Regions from separate parts of the Homo sapiens genome. Here region 1 is linked to region 2. The links are contacts of gene promoters, found by promoter capture Hi-C in human tissues and cell types (Jung and others, 2019). All regions are on one chromosome and are shown on one strand. Each heading gives the region's core, a stretch centred on a gene start or on the middle of the fragment in contact. The rest is flanking DNA. Distances are from core to core; before and after follow the strand shown. Region 1 has its middle 280 kb from the start of MIR1973. Region 2 holds the start of NDST3 (N-deacetylase and N-sulfotransferase 3).

Evidence for each region. Contacts are between HindIII fragments. The study calls those that stand out against the background at their distance.
Region 1: a contact is called between a fragment that was not itself captured here and the fragment with the promoter of NDST3 in region 2, in 1 of the 25 tissues and cell types used here (mesenchymal stem cells).

The regions. Positions count from the first base shown.
Region 1 is chr4:116,582,285-116,587,039 of GRCh38, reverse strand. No RefSeq gene overlaps it. Among named protein-coding and RNA genes, the nearest start is that of MIR1973, 280 kb to the right of the region's middle. The HindIII fragment of the contact is 5,800 bases long and covers 1-4,755 here.
Region 2 is chr4:118,031,556-118,036,506 of GRCh38, reverse strand. NDST3 (N-deacetylase and N-sulfotransferase 3) reads right to left here and starts at 2,021. Exons shown (of 14, transcript NM_004784.3): 1 at 1,915-2,021. The HindIII fragment of the contact is 9,214 bases long and covers 1-4,951 here.

The sequences.
Region 1 (4,755 bases), core at 980-3,479, 1.4 Mb after region 2:
CCTACTAGAAATCATAGATTTTCTATAGTAATGAGTGACACTTATGTATCCCAGAAGAAAATGTCTAGATATTCTTTTATTGTCAAAAATGTCTGAAACTGTCGAGATTAACTCTAGGGGCTTGACTTACAGTAAGTATGTTCTCTAAAATATCCCTAGCATATTTCTTATCTTTAAAATACACAATGGGCTTACTGTGTTGTTCTCCTTTCAGATAGCCCATTCATAGTATTGTGTCTGTATTTCATTATTTATTATTTGGGTGAATTTGAACAGATTACATAACCGTTGGAGCTTCAGTTTCATTATCTGTAGATTGGGCATAAAAGAATTAGCCTCAAAATTGAATGAGTTAATCCATGCAAGGAATTTAGAAAATGCCTATTATAGAAGTACTCAATAAGTTATTTTAATTACAAAGAAAAATGTTATTTATAGTAACCATGGATAATAGCTAATATAAATTATTTTTTTAATTGGTGACTAGCAAAACCTCGTAAGATATCACTCTTGGATTTTATTTTAAGCAGTTATTGTCCTGTCAGACTTTAGGTCAAAGGTTTCATATGACACAACTTTATATGTTTATATGATGGACAATTATTTATGTCAAGCAAACTGTATAAATGTGATTTGTTTGTTTTTTCCTCAGTGATATGGGTGTGTGTGTGTGTGTATTTCTCTTCCATATTTCTTGTCTTCAGAACACACTATGGGATAAATGTATTGTCCTCCATTCTAGGGGCTCTTCAATTAACTAGAAGAGTCACTTTTCAGATAGCCTGTGCATAGTATTGTGTCTGTGTTTCATTATTTATTATTTGAGTGAATTTGAACAGATTACATAACCTCTAGAGCTTCAGTTTCATTATATGTAGATTGGGTATAACAGATATAGCCTCAAAATTGGTTGAATTAATCCATAAAAGGAATTTAGGAAATGTCTATTAAATAAGCATATTAGATAAGTAATAAGCATTACTTTCATATAAGAAATTGGTACCACATTTATATAAGTAATAGGCATTACTTATATAATAAATAGTATATGTAGCTATTATATTATTAATATCTCTAAGTATATCTAAATATCTATCTATCCATCTCTCAAGGTTTTAGAAGATGGAAACAATTTTAAAAAACAAACAAAACATGCCTCAACCATCTCATTCTTTCAATTATTTTCTCCCTATTGTGGTTAATGGAAAGAAGTCACGTTTGGTTCTAATGGGGAAATAGAGGCTAAAATTTAGCAGATTAAAAGATGAAGTTAAAAGTTAAAATACCAAATATATGCACCTACTAGGTACCCACAAATATTTAAAACTAAAGAAAAGCAAGAGTTAAAATACCATGATTAGGGTATACCTAAAAATAAAAAGAGAAAAGAAAGTTATTACATACTAATAGATATCAAGCTGAATAAAACTGTCTCTCAAGCACAGGTATAGCAGTTGAGTTTGCAGAAGATTCATTGCATGTTCTGTTAAAGAGCAGCTGGACTATATTCTGATTCTCTCTGAAGGTTTGCTTCCAGGAACGTGCCATATGGATTGCATATTAGTTAAGGTTTTTTCTGGAACGTTTCCAGATGTCATTGCCCAAAGAATTTATGAGTCTTTACTGTAGCGCTAGTTAGACTTCTTTGTGGAACTAGAGAATAATTTTTTTAGTACTTCCCAAAGAACAAAAAAATAGAATATACTGGTGTTGGCAGACTAGTTTGTTGGTTGTTTTTGTTTGTTTGTTTTAGCATATTCAATCACCCAGGTTTTGGAGTTGTATAATTATTATATTAGAATAAAAATAAGTACTTATAAAATTGCATGTCATATATAATTGAAAGTATTTATAATTGTATCCTCCCTATTAGCAATTAAGTTGAAAAAATAAATATAATTTATTTTCTGAAACTGAAAGAGCCAAATGGCATTGACTCTGGCATAATGTACTATAACCCTCATCCATTTCTTCATGTTCTGATGCAGAGATCGAGATATTGGATGCCTGGGGAAGTCCAAGGCCTTTCTTCCATTTAGACACAGGTCTCCTAGATTGCTGATGTAATTAAAGAATAATCAAGGGTTTTTAGAAGATTTATTTTATAAAATCAAGTGGAAAGAATTTTTTTCTTGAAAGAGTTCTTGTTGAACAAATTTCATTCTTCATTTGTCTCAGCTCTTGCAATTCTATTATGAACAGTTGTAGGACTGTATTCTTTGTGACTCCCAGTTGAGTTCAATAATGGGCACGTGCTGACTGATTTGAAAATTAGCACTGGTATAATGTGACACTTCTTAAAATATCAGTATATATTTGTGACAGATTATTTCAATACTGTTAGAAAGTATGACTCCTGCTTTGAGAAGTAATTCATTGGATGTTTTAAACAACTCATATACATTTTAATATTGCTTTAGATATATCTATGTTTGTTGATAGAATATTGTCCTTCATGACTGAAAACTTAACTACTAATTCTCTAATTTCAAAATAATTTTAGCTATTAAAATTTATCAGCTAAAATAATTTCATATTTACCAGTTATAACCTGAAAAATAAGTGGTTCTTCATCACTTAAAAATTTCACGTAAAACAGAAATATTTTTATTTTTCTAAGTAAAAGAAAAATTAAAAGCTCAATGTAAGTGGGAAAAAAACAGTGCTCACTTTATGATGTGATGTGCAAGCTTAATGAATTTTATTTTCACTTCTGATATAAGTGGATCCTAGTAGTTTGTCTCTTAAAAACCCAGGAAACAATAACTCTCAAAGCCCTCTTCCTATTTTTTTCTGATTTTAAAGACATTTAATTTATTATTATAATTTTAGTTTTTAACTCATGAATTCTAGATTAGGCCATCATGTACAAATGAATGCTAGTAAGAAAAGATAGTTTGGGGTAAATAGGCAAAAGAAAATACTAGAAGACACATTAATTCACTTAATAGGTTATAAGGAAAAGTGAATTGGAGGTTTGTGTGGTAGTAAATGATGTCTGAAAAAATTCAGAAACTTCTCACTATGTAGAGACTTTTGTCAGAAGGAAATCACCTGTTTAACATTTATCAGACCTTCAGGGTACCTTAACAATACTATAATCCCTGGGATAGAAACACTGGTGGCTGCAGTAAAGGCGCAGAATCCTGCCTAAATCCATTTCCTCAAATCTCTCTTACTGAGCAAAAACCTTAAGCTTCTGTAGGTACAACAGAAAACGTTGCCTCCTTTGGGTACCAGTGAAAACCCATTGCAGCTGAAGAAAGGAAAAAGGAAAAATCTACCACTAAGACAGGGCAGGAATATGTGCTTGATCAAGAAGTAGAGCTGGGAAGTAGCAAGAACTCTGACAATGTCCTGCAAGAACATTGTCACTGTTGGACATTATAATTGTCCAACAGAGAAGTTGGATCAGAATACTAGAGCAGCACCCATAGTCCCAAAGACACCAGCAAACGTGGAGACACAACACAAGGGATATCTAAAACTGCAGATAGACCAAAGAGTGAGAATTGCGCTCTGGTAACTCAGGCTCCATTTTAAACATAGTGATCTTAGAAGAATTTGAGCCCAGTAACATAAATAAGCTCACCTTACTGACTCAAACTCCCATACTAAAGATCTAGCAAAGGGAAAAATTTGCCCATTTCAGGGCATAAATACTATTTAAATAAGCTTCAGCTATACTATACAAGATGTCTTCTGACAAAAACAATTATGAGTCATAAAAAATTGCAAGAAACATTACAAAATGATGTATTAAAAAAAGCAGAACAGAAGCAGACTTATATATATTGGGACTATCAGAGGTGAATTCATAATAACTATAATTAATATTTTAAAGGTTGTCATCAAATAAACTAAATGCAAGATCAGAGCAGTAATTTCTGCAGAAATATGGAAACTGAAAAAGAATCACATGTAATTGATAGAAATGCAAAACAGAGTAACCAAAATAAAAAAAAAATGTATTCTATGAGTTGATCAGTAGATTTTACAAAGCCATAAAAAGAATTAACAAATTTGAAGATAGGTTAGTAGAAATCACAGAAATAAAGCATAATGATAAAAATGGTGAAATAAAGTCTTCACAAAGAATCCGGGAGCCATGGAATAATATCAAATGATATAATAAATGTGTAATTAAAATCTCAAAGTGAAAGATAAGTGGAGAGAAGAAAAATTTGAAAGAAAAATAACCAATAATTTTCCAAAATTAATTTCAGACGTCTAACCTCAGATCTGAGGAGGTTAGAGAAAATCAAGATACATCACACACTGGGGCCTATTGTGGGGTGGGGAGAGTGGGGAGGGATAGCATTAGGAGATATACCTAATGTTAAATGATGAGTTAATGGGTGCAGCACACCAACATGGCACATGTATACATATGTAACAAACCTGCACGTTGTGCACATGAACCCTAAAACTTAAAGTATAATAAAAAAAGAAAGAAAGAAAAAATACCACACACAGGCACAGGCACACACACGTGCATACATACACGCACTCAGAAATATCATATTCAAACTGCTGAAAAATAGCAGTTGCCAAACTCCTCTCTAAGAAATATATATTTATAGTAGTATTTCTGTTATTTGTTTACACAGTCAAGTTTGAGATTTCAAAGAGACATTGAAGTGACATTGATTTCAGAGGTGAGAAGAGGAAAGTTCACCTTAGGAGAACTTGACTTGCTCAAATTGAAAATGGGTTTGACATTCTTAGACTAATCTGTAGTTAAGATATAATTAT
Region 2 (4,951 bases), core at 772-3,271:
TGTGAATGCTCATTTATAATAGACACAGCACAGGGAAAGTAAACTTCTACTGTTTTCCCTTACTGTCAGAACTGTTAAGCAATTAGAAATTCAAGGCATTCATTTAGTTGAGAATAGTGTTTTTATCCTTAATTCAATTTCCCTGATTTTATAGTGTATATAAATCACAAAGTATTTACATATAGTTTAAAAAAATATATTTTGCATCTTAACAAATGCACTTTTAAGGCTCTAATCACCAAAAAGCAGCTGAAACTCAATCAGGTTTCAAGGAAGTCATATAATCAGAGTCCCAAGATTAAAAGAAAAAAAATTGTAATTTCTTTACAGTTTTAAAATTTTGAAATGACAGGTAGACAATTACATATTTACATTTTAGCTTATAATAACTTCTTTAGCAGAATATATGGTTTAGAAAAAGAATCTCCAATGCCTGATTATCTCTTCTACTATATATTTTTTAACAAACTTTTCAGTTACACCAAAAATTAATATTTGCCTCAATGTTCAGAAATAATGCTTTTCTCAAGAAAATTAATTTAAAAAGAGGGTATATATAACTCCACCAAACTAAACTATAACAAATATCTCCAGAAAGAGATAAAAGTTTTATTTTATCTAAAACATTTTAGTAATGTAAGAATTCTTCATTTTAAAGACTATGAAGAAAATTAACTCATGTGACAAGCTCAAAATTAACATTATTTACACAAAGAAACAAATCTTCTGTTTTACCATCAAGATGATAAAGAAAAATGATAACAAAATTAGAAATGGTAGATACTGTGTTAACCAGAGAAAGAAAAAAAAGAGCTTATCTTAGGCAAGCCTCTTTATATGTTCAGTACTATTTTAAAAAGGAGCCTCCTTCAAACTTATATTTGAAATCTCCATCTTAAATATAATATTGATAGGAAGGTATGGATGAAGAAAAAGGGAAAAAAATTCCCTTCAGCTGAATATCGGATATTCTAGAGTTTCTCTGCCATATCATCCTGCTCTCTGGTGGTGAACAGCATTGCTCAGTAGTTGATAACATGAAATTTTCTAAGGGCAAAAAAAAAAAACAAAAAAAAAGTGTGTGTCCCAGATCAGTTGCACACATCTCAATATTTGATTTGTATTTTAATTTAATACAAATGTATTAAGAATGTAGCTGTTTGCATTGTCTAGAAGGGTTTTCTTCTAAACTCTTCCAGATTACATGTTGCTATATTTCAATATGTTTATAAAGAATATAGATACTAATACATTTTCGACATTAAATAACTCTGATGCTTAAACAGTATCCAGCTATTAGAAAAACTATTTGAAAAAGGATCTGAGTAAACCCCTTAAAGATGTAACTTTGCTTTTACCTGCCCCCACAAAATGGATATATTAAATAGAAGATATATCTGTTTTCTTTAAATTTAAAGTTTCTGTATTTGATACCTAGATTGATTCTTTCCATTTCCATTTAATTTTATTAATTGTATAGTTTTAAATAATGTCTATAAACTGCATCAAATAGAAAGCCTTTTGAGGATCATTACTGTGTAGATAGGCAGGTAGTTTAAAGTCTCTGATATTCCTTACAAAATTCTGTCAAGGCAACAGACATGTGTTCTGTTAAACAGATCTACTTCAGAATCATTATAAGTTGGTGAATATCTTAAACAATTACAAGAGGTCATTTCTTTAGTACCATAATCTTATGAAAGGGAAGCTTTAAAATCATCCCTGAATGAGACGGTCCTTTGTTTCACTTAATTTAATCAAAATACTCTATATTTCTTCTTCAAGAATAAAATGAAGCACTTGTTCAATCTTGAAATTTTTAGATTATTTGAAAGCAAAGTTGTTATCTCTTAAAAGCCCCTACATTTATGAGTGAGGCATTAATGCACAGTATAAATAAATAAATACACTTACCTGGAATTAAAGTTCAGAGCTGAAAATGCTTGAGAAAGTTGCAATAGATGGAAAAGAAACGGAAACAGTACCACTCGTTACCATCGGCTCAGGCTTTTTGACTTTACAAGTGGTAGCAACACCAGTCCTGGCCCAGTACTCTCATGTTATGTAACATCTTATTAATATTAGCCATCAAACTGCTACCAAGCTGGTGAGGCACTAGAGGGCAAGAGTGTCACATGCAAGACCCGTCGCCAAGGGACCGGCTTTGGTACCACTTCGGGGGAAGACAGATGCTAACTAAGCTGATGAATAACAGGATGCCCGAATACAACAGCAAACTTGTAACGTTCCTCAAAGAATATTTTACATGTCAATTTTCTGACTAGCGGAAGAGTTAACAGGTTAATAAATATGAGCAAGCAAATAACCACACCATGAAAAACTTTTAGGATTATATTTACAAACCCACAGTCACTCAAGAGGCTGTTTGTTTTTTTCTTTCCATTGTCTAAATAAACTTATTTAAAACAGGAGAAAAAAGCTGGTTAAATAAAACGAGTGTCGGTTTCAGGACTCCCTCATTCCAAGCCGCGAGAAACTTGTCTGGTCGAGATGCCGCCTCTGGAGTCCGCATTCCAAGGCGCCCGGATCGGGTTTCTGGGCGAGGAGACCGGCCCCGTCCTCCATGGAGATTACCTGGGGCTGCAGCCGTCCGCGGGCTCCTCCTTCCCTCGGGTCTTCGGCCTCAGCCGCTCCCCAGGGCCCCTCGTCCGGGTGGCGCTTGGGTGCTACGCGGTGCCCGGGGTCCGGCGGGGGCGACAAGCGGGCGACCTCTCCCCTCCGCGCCCGGGATCTGCGCGGACACAGCTGGTGGCGACTTCGGCCGCTCAGGCTGCGGCTGCGGGGCGAGCGCAGCGGGTGCGCCGGGGACTCCTGCGCTGGAGAACCACGGCCCTGGGACCCGCCCGGCCGCGCCTCCGCCGCCCTCGCCACCGCCTCCCGGGCGGGAGCCGCCGCCTCCCAGCTCCCGGCCCGCGCGCGCCCGCCCCGGGGAAGGGGAGGGAGCGGGAGCTGAGGACGGGAGCCGCCTCCATCGACCGGGCTCCCGCCCGGACCGGCCCTGAGGATCTGGCTGCCCGGGCCTCGACAAGGAGACCCCGGGGGTTCCGCCCCGGCCTGCCAGTTCCGACCGCCCCTCCCGGCGGGTTGGCGGCGGCCGCCAAGGATGAAACGTCTTGTGCGGCCAGGGAAAGGGGTGCGAGTCCCCGAGGCGACGCTGGAAGGGTGGGGCGCACCCGCGCGGTCCCTTCCTGTGGTGCTCCTGCCGTTGGCACTGGACCAGGGCGGCTGCGAGGCTGCAAGAGTTTCCTCTGTTCGCCAGTTTTTTTCAAATGCCATGTGTTTCAGCTCCTGAAGACAAGTGGAAGGCCAGCAACTGAAGAGATATTTTGGATTCAAGGTGTGAGGTTACCCTCTCCAGAACTATAGTTTGATTAGAAGTGTGAATCGAATGATATATATTTTTAAAAATTTCATTTGGTTCCACTAACATGTGAATTGTATTAAGTGGGGTCTACTAATGATACTTTGTATTGGCCATTTGTGGTTTTGCTTCCCAGCACTCACTCTTGTTGAAACAGTACTCCTGTTCATTTTGGAAGATCCAACCACTTGATCTCACCCCGCAGCCCATTTGCTTTAGGTGATGTCAGCCGCTGCTGACTCACTGGTAGACCCACAGCTCAGGTCTGGCCAGTGATGGCTTTCTGTCCTGGTAGCATGGGTAGGTATGTAACCCAGGTCTGGCCAATCAGAGAGAAAAACAGAAAAAAACCACCATTCTGGGACTTTTTTTTTTCCTTCCTCTCTTAAGAAAGTGGACTCTCTTCTACTGGACTTTGCATAATGAAGATGTGAGCTTAGAGCTTGAAGTCTGAAAATAAAGCTGATACTCAGGAAGGCAGAACTGAGAGTTGGAGAAAAGTGAAACCCAGATGGAGATTTTCGAGCTTGGAATCGAGCTGTAGCTGAAATAAGTTCTATCTCTGGATATTTTCATTCATAAACAAATACATTCACTTTTTTTTTTGATTCGGAGTCGCGCTCTGTCGCCCAGGCTGGAGTGCAGTGGCGTGATCTCAGCTCACTGCAAGCTACGTCTCCCGGGTTCCCACCATTCTCCTGCCTCAGCCTCCCGAGTAGCTGGGACTATAGGAGCCCGCCACCAGGCCCGGATAATTTTTTGTATTTTGGTAGAGACGGGGTTTCACCGTGTAAGCCAGGATGGTCTCGATTTACTGACCTCGAGATCCGCCCACCTCGGCATCCCAAAGTGCTGGGATTACAGACTTGAGCCACCGCGACTGGCCACATTCACTTTTGTCTTAAGGCAGCTTGGACTGCATTTGCTGTCCCTTGAAACTGAAAGAGACACAAACGATGATACAGTAATTAAATATTCTGGTTGTTTATTAACTTTATCAGGGTATTTGGATTCGTAGTTCAAGACCTTCAATTAGAACCCAATGTCCTGAAAGGGTTAGTTGGAATTGTGTTTTAAAATCAGGAAGTTATATATCCTTTTTGTTCTATGTGATGGAGGGGTTACAGATGTGACTGAACCAATTGCTCCTTCTGGAAGCCCACAAAAATGTCAGGATGCTAGAATTCTTTGGCCAAGTAACATGTATTAGATTGGTTTTATTTATTTTTTAGTTGGAGTGTTCCCTGGAAGTCTTGTGCCTTTTAAGAATTTTAAGAACCCACATTTATTTTTCTATGTACTCCTTACCCAAGAGAGAGCCTGCTCTGTCTTCCGAGCAGCCATGCATTCATCATTTTAGTAATCAAAAAAATTATTGAACACCTACTAAATGGCTCTGGGAATACAATAATATTGAAAAAAGAAAAGCAGGACCACTCTCTGCCCTTCAGTCGCTTATATTGATATAGCTGTAGGAGGTCAGGCTCTTCTACAAGATTTCAGAGAATAGACAAGATTCATGAATTCATAAATTCCTAAATGTTTCAGGGAATGTAGGCAGATTCAGAA